Linked DNA regions of Homo sapiens: regions 1, 3 and 4 are each linked to region 2. The links are contacts of gene promoters, found by promoter capture Hi-C in human tissues and cell types (Jung and others, 2019). All regions are on one chromosome and are shown on one strand. Each heading gives the region's core, a stretch centred on a gene start or on the middle of the fragment in contact. The rest is flanking DNA. Distances are from core to core; before and after follow the strand shown.

The links. Contacts are between HindIII fragments. The study calls those that stand out against the background at their distance.
Region 1: a fragment that was not itself captured here is called in contact with the fragment with the promoter of NFASC in region 2 in 1 of the 25 tissues and cell types used here (hippocampus).
Region 3: a fragment that was not itself captured here is called in contact with the fragment with the promoter of NFASC in region 2 in 1 of the 25 tissues and cell types used here (H1 embryonic stem cells).
Region 4: a contact is called between the fragment with the promoter of LRRN2 here and the fragment with the promoter of NFASC in region 2, in 1 of the 25 tissues and cell types used here (pancreas).

Annotation. Positions count from the first base shown.
Region 1 is chr1:205,055,625-205,058,522 of GRCh38, reverse strand. CNTN2 (contactin 2) reads right to left here. Exons shown (of 23, transcript NM_005076.5): 3 at 458-602; 4 at 167-342. Among named protein-coding and RNA genes, the nearest start is that of CNTN2, 14 kb to the right of the region's middle. The HindIII fragment of the contact is 5,062 bases long and covers 1-2,898 here.
Region 2 is chr1:204,827,126-204,830,074 of GRCh38, reverse strand. NFASC (neurofascin) reads right to left here and starts at 1,423. Exons shown (of 30, transcript NM_001005388.3): 1 at 1,293-1,423. The HindIII fragment of the contact is 4,389 bases long and covers 1-2,949 here.
Region 3 is chr1:204,572,495-204,575,325 of GRCh38, reverse strand. LRRN2-AS1 (LRRN2 antisense RNA 1) reads right to left here. Exons shown (of 13, transcript XR_007066814.1): 3 at 1-1,639. Among named protein-coding and RNA genes, the nearest start is that of LRRN2-AS1, 9.7 kb to the right of the region's middle. RefSeq lists an enhancer at 1,858-2,558. The HindIII fragment of the contact is 9,492 bases long and covers 1-2,831 here.
Region 4 is chr1:204,684,133-204,687,148 of GRCh38, reverse strand. LRRN2 (leucine rich repeat neuronal 2) reads left to right here and starts at 1,411. Exons shown (of 2, transcript NM_201630.2): 1 at 1,411-1,829. The HindIII fragment of the contact is 8,916 bases long and covers 1-3,016 here.

The DNA of each region.
Region 1 (2,898 bases), core at 348-2,847, 230 kb before region 2:
GAGCCCCTCCCCGACTCATCCTTCACGGAGAAGCAGCAGTTCACTAAGGCATGTCATGTGAGGTCAGGAAGGCCCGGCTTGAGGGTGTCCCTTATCCTTTCTCAGTAATTTCTCCTAGCCCCCTCTCCCCCTCCCCCAAAGTGTCTTGGTCCCCCGCGGGTCTCACAGCCGAAGCGGAGGATGGCCTCCCTGCTGACAACGGTGCCCACTGGGTTGGAGGCCAGGCACTGGTAGACCCCGGCATCCTGTGCCTTGGTGGGGTTCATGATGACCAGGTTGCCCCCCACCAGCTGGTGACGGGAACCTGGCTCCAGCTTCATCTCGGTACCATTCATCTTCCACCTGCAGCAGGGGACAGAGGAAGGGGACCTCTGAGTCCTGCCTGGTGGCAGGGCTGATGAGAGGGAAAGTTCAACGGCTGCCCAGGGCCTCCCAGCACCCACTGCAGAGGCCTTACCGATAGGTGGCTGGAGGGCTGGCCCGGGCGCGGCATGCCAGCAACACCTGCTCCTCCGTGGACTCCTCTGGGAATAGCACACTGAGGGGCTGGTCTTCAAAGACAGGCCCGAAGGTGGTTTGGGATCCCAGGGCTGAACTCCAAGCTGCAGGTGATGACACCACCAGATGCCTCAGAGCCTTGGCCTGGCTGGAGCCTGGCCTCTTGGGCTGTGCTGTCCAGTAAAACTTTCTCTGATGATGGGAATGTCCCATTTTCTGCACTGTTCAATGTGGTAACCACTAGCCACGTAGGGCTATCGAGCACTTGACATGTGGCTATTGCGACTGAAGAACGACATTTTACATTTTATATTACTTAATTAATTTAAATTTGAATTTAAATAGGCTGGGCAGGCCCCATCTGGCCATACTAGTTCAATCAATCACCCATCCTACACTTAGGTATTGAGCACCTGCTCTATACCCAGCACTGGGCTAGAGACTGGCTTGTAAAGATGATTAAGACACAGTCCCTCTTCTTCAAGGGGCTTGCGGTCCAAGGAGGGAGACAGGAAATTGACAGTGCAAGGTAGCAAATGCCATAAAGTTCAAGATGCTGGGGCCTCAGAATGGAAGCAGTTCTACCTCCCAGGGGGCTTTCAAGGGACCCTTACAGAAGAACTGATCTGTGGGGTGTGAGGTGCATGAGACGTCGCCAGCCACAAACATGCAGAGAGGATGTGTGTCCCTGGAGCCTAATACCCTTACTGGGGCAGTGTGGACCAACGAGGCCTGGGCCTGGGGACTAGGCTGGCCCTCTACTAGCTGTGGGACCTTGGGAAAGTTATAGAACTCTTCTGAGCCTCAGTATCTTCACCTGTGAAATGAAAAGAATATGAGTTCACCTCCCAGGGTCTGCATGAGGATTCAGCCAGACAAACCCTTGGAAGGTGGCGGGCACGGAGAGTGTGCTCAGCAGATGTCTGCTGGAGCCACATGTGGGGTGGGGACTTGGAGGAGAAGGATTGCCTTATGGTGGGTGGAGGGTGGGCAGTTTGCTTTGGTGGCAGTTTTATACAATTCCAGTATCACAATTCAAGAAATGTCCAGAAAAGGGAGTGACTTGCCCATGGTCACCCAGCAAGTCTGTGGCACAGACAGATCAATTCCTCCTGAGCTTGGTGGACCAATGAGCACCACACAGGCAAATGGGGCAGACTCCTCTCTCTTCATGCATCATTGTCCTGCTGCAGGGCAGGGCAGGGGATGAAGAGCCACAGATTGGCCGGACATCACACCTGCCCTTCGACAGGGCTGGGGTGGGCTCTCTGCTGACTGGTGGGGCCAGTCCGTTTTGCTTCTGCGGTGTCAGGTGGGAGCCAGGCTATCCCTAATTGGCTTCTACCTCTTAACGCAGCTGATTTCAGGCCTTCCTTGGTGGGTCATGGGGAAAGGGATCCCCATTAACTAATTAGTTCCTTTCCCAGCGCATCCAGCCATCAGTCCTCTTCCAGGGGTAGGGGGTGGCCCCATGCTGCAGCTGAGGCCCAGCCTTGGCCCCCTGGGAGTGAGGGCAGCTGCTAAGCAGCTCTCAGAATGAGGTAGGAGGCAGGGCTCCCAGGAATGGCCCGGTGCAGGCATCCCTTGTGCCATTCTCCCTCACTGCCGCCCCAGGCCTCAGAGGCGGAGGCGGCGGGCGGTGACGGCATCATCTCGGCTGGAAAGTCCAGCTTAATCCCAAGTTAATGATGGTGGTGTACGGTAGGAATCCTGCCCCAGCTGGCACTGCTGGGAGGGGAGGCAAAGGAGGCGCTGGGAGGCAGCCGGACTGCTGGGAACCACCTAGTACAATAGCAGCTTCCAGGAACGCTGGGTGATGGGGTGGCTGAGTGGGCTCAGGGCATGTTGATACATTCAGACTCTTTCTTCCCGAGAAACCTTTCTCCTCTGCTCTCAGCTGTCCACTCACCCAAATATTCACATACACACCCCTTCGCATCTCTCACCTACACACATTTTCTTATATGCACGCTCATGTCATACACACATTCGTACATATGCACCTCCCTAAGCTGCTCAAATGGCAAGATACATACATTTACACACACATCCATTCCCCCCTGACACACAGCTATAGATGGCCATGGAGACTTTTATATATAATCCATGCATTCATAATAATAAAAATAGGTGCTATAGACGGACTGCTTACTATTTATCCCATACCATGCTCCATATTTCCTTCTCATAACCTCTTTACAAGATAGGTATTGCCATTTTCTTATTTTCCTGACATGGAAACTGACAGTTAGAAAGCTTCAATAACTTGCCCCAGATCCCACAGCGAGAAGGAGCGGATCTGGGGGGTTGGACCTTGGCCAGGCTGACCCCACCACAAGCATTCTTAACCCCACTGTTCCTGACTCTTGACCTCTGTTTCCCATCAGAACCACCAGAGGC
Region 2 (2,949 bases), core at 174-2,673:
ACACTGAGGGATGAGGCATCTCTGCTCAACACACACACACACACACACACACACACACACACACACACCCCATGCCAAAATGCCAAGGAAGGAGTCAGGAGCAGAACCTGGCTCAGGACAGGATGGGGGCTGCCATGGGGACCAGATTCTAGGTGATTCAGCACTCTGCCCACTCTTGGCCCAGCCCATGGGCCACACTCATGACAGCTCCAGATGCCAAAGTGCTGACTTGGAGGCTGAAGCAGAATCTTTTCTAAAATCCAAAATTATCCAGCCCTCCAGCAGGGCTCCTCATCCAGGCCTTTACATCAGGGCTCAGGCCAAGCCCCAGGAGGAGTCTGCTCAGTCATTCCCCTGGACCCTGCCCCTTCCCCATCCTAGTTTCCCAATGCCTAGCACCCCCTCCCCCAATCCATCTAGGAAACAAACCTGAACAGCTAGAGGAGTAGAGTGGCTGCATGGCTGGAGAGGAACATAAGAGAGAGGCCTACTAACCCCCAGCATTCTTCCCCAAGCCACAAATAGGATCGAACATGCAGAAAGGGGTTATATTCCACAACCAAGATCCCCACCCAGGGAAGGGGGGTCCAGAGGCCACTGAGGGAGGGCTGGGTACAGGCTGTATGGCTCCACACAGCACCAGGAAGGGCAGCTAGGGAAGGTGACGGGTGTCAGGCCAGCTAACAGCCAAAGGGGGGAGAAGGCGGGGTTCTTGAGAGGGACTGTGATGCAGGAGGACACCAAGAGGCAGCTGGGAAGGGGCTGGGACAGGGCGTGCAAGGGGGAACCAGGGGAGGACAGAAACTGAGGGAGCAAATGGAGAGACAGGACACCAACTGGTAGGGGCATGAGATGGGGAAGAGAATAGGGGAGGCAAGAAGGGGCTGATGTGTGCGGTAGGAAATACAGGAGGCATGGGGTCATCCAAAGTGGGGTGTCGAGGTAAACAGAAGTACAAGGGCAGGCAGGGCTCACGGATGAGGCGGGGACAGAGAGGAAAGGGAAAGGGTTGAGGATGCGGGAAGGGGGAGGGGACGCGGCCAACGAGATAGAAAGGGTGTTGGGGTGGGCAGGGGGCTGGGAGCTGGACGGGGACGGGGTGGGCATACGAACAGAATCGGATGGATTCGGGGCAGGTGACAGTGTGGAGAGGGGAAGGGATGGGAATGTGGACGGAGGGGGAGGGGGCAGGTCAGGGGATGGAGACAGACGAGGGCGGGAACAAGGGGGTGTCGCTAGGTGGGTTTCCATGACTCTCTACCCCCATCTCTCCGGTGTTCGCGCTCGCCTACCTCCAAGGGCTCGGGCTCCGGCCCTGGGCGCTGTCCGAGCTGTCCGCTGCCGGCGCCGCCACTTCCCCCGCGTCCCCTGCAGCGCCTCTCGCCGCCAGCCGCCGCATTAGGGCAGAGACCAGCCCGTGCGCGTCCCCGGGCGGCCGGCGCGCCCCCGACACCCTGCGTGCGCGCCCCCGCGCCCCTCCCTTCGCGCTCCTAGCGGCCGCTGAGCGGGGACCAGGACAGAGGCGGAGGGAAGGATGCTCCGGACGCAGCCCCGCCTGGCGCGCTGGGGAGCGGTGCGCAGAGCCAGGGCCGGAAAAAAAAATCCTCCTTTCTCTTTTCACCTGAGGCCTCTTTGCGGGCTTGCCTGGAGAGTGATAACTAGTCTCCCCGTTTCCGTTCGCTGAGCACCTACTACGTGCAAAGCACACAGGAGGAAGTACCCTGAAGCCCCAACAGGATCGCTTGTTTGCACCTCCACCATAGACTGTGACTTTAGGGAGCAGGAAGTTGCCGGACAGCTTGTGTTCTCAGGGCCTAGCACAGAGACTTGTTTGTGGTAAACTCTCCAGCAACATTTGTTGATTGGCAAGTCGTTGGATCCTGATTCAGGGATGTGAGAGAGGTTGTGACTGCTATGAACAGTGCGGGGCTTTCTTTTAGAAATGGGAGATTTCCTCTGCCCTAGGGGGACTCAGGCCTCAGTCGTGGCTGGAGAACTATCTGACATGATAGCAAGACATTTATCTGTGGACATCAGTTTCCACAACTGAACCATGAAAAGTTGATTGGGTGGTCGCCCAAGGTCTCTTCTAGCTCTGACACGAAGACTGCATTAGGTTCTGTGCACAGGATCTGAGCTCAGAATTATCACCTGAAACAGTGGAAAGATCCCAGTTAGGGAATCATAGAATCTTTGTCTTGGAAGAGCACTTGGAAGCTTCTAGTTCAGCTCCTCATCCAAAACTACAGTCCCCTGCAGCATCCCTCTGTGGCCCCATTCAAGGGCTACTTTCTCTGTGCTCATAGCTCCTACCCTGGCACCACTGTCTTTTATTCTGGATGAGAACACCAAAGTTCAAGGAACCTGCCCAAGTAATAATTCAAAGCCCAGATGCATCTGACAGTGCCTAGTTAAAACTACTTTGCTATTTTAAGATGGGCCCTACAAGTTTTAGATTTCACCAATACTAGAATCTTCTAATATGGTCAAGTTGAAGGATCACAGGATTTGCCAAGAAAGTCCTGGCTTACCAGCAGGGTAAACTTGGGCAGTTCACTTAACCTCTCTAAGTCTTCTTTTTCCCATCTGTAAAATGGGCATAGAGTGAGCATCAATGAGATAAGGTACTGAACCAAACTGTTCTTTACAAATGTTAATTATTGTTCAGCCTTCCCTCCCCTTTCTTCATTACTTTTAAACAGCAAATACACGAAGGTCTAGAGAGATGGACCCCACACAGTGGTTTGGTGGTTGAAACTGAACTGGGACTCAAGTTTCATGGCCTTAGTATAAAGAAATTAAGTGTGGGCCTAAAGGGAGCATGGTGACCCCCAGAGGCCCTGAGGGTGAAGGTGTTTCCTTGGCCTCGGTGGTGTCCCAGAGCTGCAGGCAAGTCCTGATGGAGGGAGAGGCACCCCCTGCTGGTGATGGACTCTGGGGACTAAGAAG
Region 3 (2,831 bases), core at 242-2,741, 250 kb after region 2:
TGACCGCTTTCCTTCTTTTGGGTCTCCAAGCCTTGCAAATGCTGCTTCCTTGCCTGGAGCATCCTTAGCTTGGGTTTCTGTCACTTGCATTCAAAAGAGTCTAACATAAGAGAAATGGTCAGATAGGAGGGCAGAATGGATCACTGTTAATTATGAGGACTTTGGAGGCAAACTGCCCAGATTCAAATCCCTGTTCCACCCCTTGCTAGCAGTGTGACCCCAAGCAAGTCATTTAACTTCTCTGTACTTCATCTGTCAAATTCACTCATCACAATACTTAACTCACAGGGCTGCCGTTAATTAGTTAATGTCCACATGTATCTGATTAGAAGAGCACACTGTGTAACACAGCCCATTACGACTGCTCTAATTCCAGCCCACAGGGCCAGCTGGCCGGGGCCCCTTTCCACAGCAGTGGTGAGTCCAGATGGGCCACACCTGCTGCTGCTCCAGGGCTGCATCCCCTTGTGCTGTCCTCCCAAGGCTACATCTGCAAGTGGAGAGGATTTGGCTATCACTCACTGGGGGAGAGATAAGTGTGGAAGCAGGAGGGGGAATTGGGGAAGGAGGGAGGCTGCGTGTGGGACACCTTCGGAAGCCCTTGTCTTCTTCGTAGTCCCCAGGGAAAGGAACGCCTGCCTGCTCTGTAGAGGGCAGGCTGAGCTCTGAGTGTGGGCTTCCTATTCTCACAGCAGCTAGTTTCATACTTAAAAGTCTGAAGCCAGATATATTCTGCCACCAGATTAATTTTTTTCTGAAGCTCCCATTTGGTCTGTTGGAGGAATTCACATTCCTCCGGCTGTCATAACTTTGCTCTGTCTTTCAAGAGCTCACACCCCTGGCCTTGTTTTGCAAATAGAGCATTCTTTCTCTCCTGCCTGTCCTTTACCTTACAAAGCTTCCCCATACTGAACAAAAACATTTTCAACTGCTCTGTAGTGGAAGGTAGGGAGGCCGGGGTGGAAGTAAAGGGTAATTAAATAATTTCTGCTGCAGCACGAAAAGCTGAACAGCATGAAGTATTATTAATACGATGTGCTCTTCCTAATGAATTAACACAGGCAATCCCTCTCTCCTGTCTGGTGTTCAGTAAATATTTGTTGAATGAATGAATAACAGCTTATGATTCTGTCTTTCCTGCTCTGATGAATTATGAAGTCCATGTAGCCAAATCAGCATCAAACCCATTTTATATGCAGTCTGTGTTTTGAGCCCCAGGTCAAAGTGAATAAAATATGTGTGAAAATGAAGTAATAATGTCCATTGGAGACCACTGGCTTCCTGTATTTGTAGGGGATAGGGTCTACCTGGCTTGGTATTGGTGACTTGAGAGTAGCCTTCCAGCTGCTTTTCTCTGGTTCCCAGGTAAACCAGGGTCAGGCTGTCCCTTCTAGGTGGAACTCTGTTGAGACCCCACAGGCAGCTCTGGTGAATGACCAGCATGTGCAAACTCATTGCTCTCCAGCTGACCCCAAAACCATGCAGGAAGAAGGGCAATTCCTGCAGGACTGAGTCTGCCCCCGGCTGAGCCTTGCTTTGCTCATTGCAGATATTTAAGTCTCTCCATAGTGCTGTGACTCACCTGTCTGTCCTTGGTTGGAATTCCACAGGGAAATCACATGCAGAACCTGGTCACTATCTGTACACAAAGCACATGGAGAGATTCTAGGGACAATCATTTCTAAGTAAATTACCTAAGGGCAGAAGAGTCTGCCCGGGAGCTGGGGGAGAATGGAGCAGGGACAGGAGATGGGAATAAGTGACTTGTACATTAATCACAAAGCAATCAGCAGATGACAAGGGGCCTTGGAACCACCACGTCTGTCTAGCTGGACGAGGTGAAAGAAAAGGTCACCCTTGTCTGGGAACTCTCATCCATCTTCAAGACACACACTTACCTGGCTTGCATGTGCCTGAGCTTCCTGTTTTTCCCGCCCAGCAGAGATGCTGCCCTGGCCTGGTTCATTGTCCATTATTTGCCCTCTGGGCCATCCCAGCATCCACCTGGCCTGCCCCACCTGGCCCAGGCCACAGAGGAGGGCATGGCTTTGGCTAGTTGACCTTTAGGAAGTCATTTACTGGGTGTAACCCACCTCAGTTCCTGAGACCTGTAAACTCCTCTTTCTCTGCCCTGAATCTTCCCCAGTTATCAGGGCCCAAGCAGGAGAGTGGGCGTGAACTCTCAGCGCTCTTCCCCTAACTTTTTCCCTTGATCCTCCCCAGCTTCTTCCCTCTCCTGGCAACCCACCCCCTGCCCACTGTCCCCTGAACACAGAGGCTCCTGATGGATGGAGCTGTCTTCTTACTTCCGCTGGCCCTCCCTGGGCTGTACACTAGCCCTTGGATCAAAACCTGTTCCCAAGTTCAGATCAATTTCTTTCTGACATATTTTCACAAAAGTGGGTTTTGTCTCCCAGGTCATTTGAATTTGAACTGGAGCAATGTCCTTGCCCAGGTGTAACCCTTGGCAGTGGATTTTGGCAGTGGTGATGAGTTTGGAGTAGAAAAAAAGAGTCCTGATTAGAATGGCTACTCCATGGCTCAGATCACAGATAGAGCATGAGATTTGGATTTAGGCCTTGGATTTATTTTATTGATTGATTGATTGATTGATTGATTGAGACGGAGTTTCATGCTTTCGCCCAGGCTGGAGTGAAGTGGTGCAATCTTGGCTTACTGCAACCTCCACCACCCCTCCCCCGGCCCTCACCAGGTTCAAGTGATTCTCCTGCCTCAGCCTCCCGAGTAGCTGGGATTATTGGCACCTCCCACCACGCCTGGCTAATTTTTGTATTTTTTTCGTAGAGACGGGGGTTTGGCCATGTTGGCCA
Region 4 (3,016 bases), core at 162-2,661, 140 kb after region 2:
CCCTCCAGACAACCCATTCTACTCTGCTTGTCTCCACTTTCCTGCCTTTGCTGGTCCCCATATTCTCTTCCAGTTCAAATCCTATCCCTCCAACTAGGCTCAGTTGGAGACTCAGCTCCTCCGTTAAACCTTTTGTGAATAATGCTAGTCCATTAAGGTGGTTTCTTTTTGTATTTCTATGGCACTTCCATCGTCTTGAAATATTAAAATTGGTTTCATATAGTTCCAACCTGTCACTCTGAGCTCCTTGAGGCCATTATGCTCCGTAGCAGGGGTGGAGAGTGGGAACATGGGGGTGGTTTAGTGGGAACTTAATATGTGCTCATTCAATATATGAAGGTGAGAATCCCCTCTGTGCATACAGAACTCAGACCTTCAAGCCAACTTCACAAAAGCCACCAGGCATGGCAGTCACCACTGGCTGTACCCTTGGAAAAGACAGGGCCAGAAGCTCAAGCACTGGATGACGGCAGGCAGCCCAGGGAAGCCACTCCTCACAGGACTCCACACCTTGGCCTCCACCTCATCCATTCCCCTGTTGTTGGTTCTGCAGGCTCTGGTCCAGACCCATCAGTAGGGTGTGGCCTGCCATGGAGCCGAGTTTGTGATGTCTGTTCTGAGTGGTCCAGGCTGAAGTCCCCACCAAGGCATGGGTGTTGGGCATTGGGCCTTTGCCCTCCTCTAGTGGCAGTCACCCAGCTTTTCTAAGCCACCAGGCAGCAGCCTAGCACCCACCTTTGGCACCTTCTTACTTTCCTCCCCCAGTCTTCATGATGTCCAGCTGGCAGAGTGGGGAACCCTGAAGCCAAACCCCTAACTGGGCCTGCCAGTTCCTGACTGAAATTGACCTCCTTCATTGAGAGCCAGGACGGAATCTTCCAGAATGCTAGAGCTGCACGGCTCAGGATGCAATGCTGGAAAAGCATGACAACTAAAGGGGTCTTCCACTCCATTCTTTAGGGTGAGAGGTGCCTGGGCCCAGTGACAAATTCTCACCCACCCCACTACATTCCTTAGTCCACTGTTAACTTCGGGAGGGTAGCACCATGCAAAGCAAAAATGTGATCTTAGGTGCATGCTGTGACTGTGAGCTGCACCTGTCCTCACAAAGCTGCTGAATTCCCCATTCGTCTCCTGGCCTTTGCAAGAGGGTCCGAGGCAGTATGAGAGAAGCCAACCCTTCTCTTCCCGGACCCAAGGGCTGTGCCCCTTCTCTCAGCCAAGCCTTGTGTCTCTAGGCACAAGGACAGCTCAAGCGTTAGCGTCTGGCCCCACCCAACTCCTTCCTCCCGGGTGTGTGTGCGTTAGGTAGAGGGGGCCTCTGGCCACTCAGGAGTTAAAATGGCAGCGGGACTGGAGGGGGTTGGCGTGGCATGCAGACTGGGAGGAGGCGACCGGAGTGGGCTGGGGAGGTTGGGAGAGCGGCGGAGAAGCGAGTGAGGAGGGCGAGCGCGAAGCCGGGAAGAGGGGCGCGCGTGGAGGGGGTGCCGGGCGCCGCGAGGGCCTGCTCCGGGCACCTGCGAACGCGCGGCGCTCTCAAGGAGCGCCTGGCTCTCGCCCGCCAGCCTCCGGCCGCGACGCGCCCAGGGCGCGGAGAGGGGGTGGGGACGGATTGGGATTCTGCCATCGCCCTCACCGGCTGGGCCCTGGAGCCGCTCCCAGGATAACTCCACGTTGGGGAGGGCGCCCGCCGAGCCTCCCCGGCCTGTGCAGACGGCGCGCGCGGCGGGAGGGCGCGGACCAGCGTCCCCAGCCCGGCCCCGGGCGGAAGGCGAGCGGAGCGCGGCCGCGCGGGCAGCAGACGGCAGACGGTGCCCGGCGCCCACGGGGTGAGTGTGCAGCTTCGGGGCTGACCTGGGCAGCGCCGCCGCCGCCGGGGAATCGTGGACACCGAGGTCGCTGGCGTGGCCGAGGCGTACGCGGCGGGAGCGGCCGGAGCAGCCGCCTCAGGGCTCCTGGCTCCTGCCCCGGCACCGCAGCTCCGCCTGACCCGGGTGGGGGCCAGAGGAGGGCCGGCCGCTGCCTTCCGCCGAGACGCCTGCGGGGGAGCCGGAGACTTGGGAGAGGGAGGCGGCCGAGGGGCAGAGGGACGGAGGGCTGGAGAATGCCCAGAAGCGGCCAGGGAGAGGGCGCCTGGGCCTTCGCCTGGAGAGGCCAGAACCTCCCCCAAACTGTTGCTGGGTAGAGTGGGGCCCTGGAGATGTGGAGGAGCCGAGAGGTGGCAGTGAGGTTAGGGAGGGCGTGACACGGGCGGACTGGCAGGCTGGAAGCGCTCCAGAGCCTGGGGACTTTCTCCTCCTTGGAGCTCGCGAGTCTGTGCGGAGGGACAAGGTGGCCTTGGGTCTGTCTGAAGTATCTGGAACCAGGAGCTAGGCTCCTCCCGGGCCGGCTGGCTGGGGTCCGACCGCAGCCTGGGATGGGACCTTTGGGGTGGGGGATGGGCCGGCCTGGGGCTCAGCCTGGGGACTCGGTCAGGGGGAAGCGGAAACGGAAGGGTGGCTCTGAGCCCACCGCAGGACCCAGGAGACAGGATGGGCTGGCCAGCCACAGGTGGGCCGTCTGTCCTGCTGGCAAAGGGTGGCGCAGGCTCTGGCTGCCCAGCCGGCGAGGAGCCGCGGGGTGAGGGAACTGAGCTCCATCTGGGGCCGAGCGGAGAAGCTAAAGAGGTGCAGGAGACCCGGAACCTGGGGAGGGGCCCCGGGGGTAGCACTGTGCTCCCTACCCTTCCTCCCCCACCCAAACGAACAGGAAGGAAAATGTCAGCTGGGCTTTGTGCTCTGTTCCTCAGGCTGCCGCAGCTCCCATCTGTTGGAGCCAACGCAGCTTCTAACTGGGCGACTGGCAGGGTTGGAGGGGGTGGGCTGGGCACAGCGCTCAGTTGCCAGAGATGGACTGACAGGCCCTCTGCTTGAGAACTCCAGGACCTAGGGTGGTGAGGAGAACAGCCTCCCTAGGTCAGGGCAGTAGAGGTGACTCCCTGCCAGTTTGGTCACTGTCATAGGGGAAGATGTAGGTC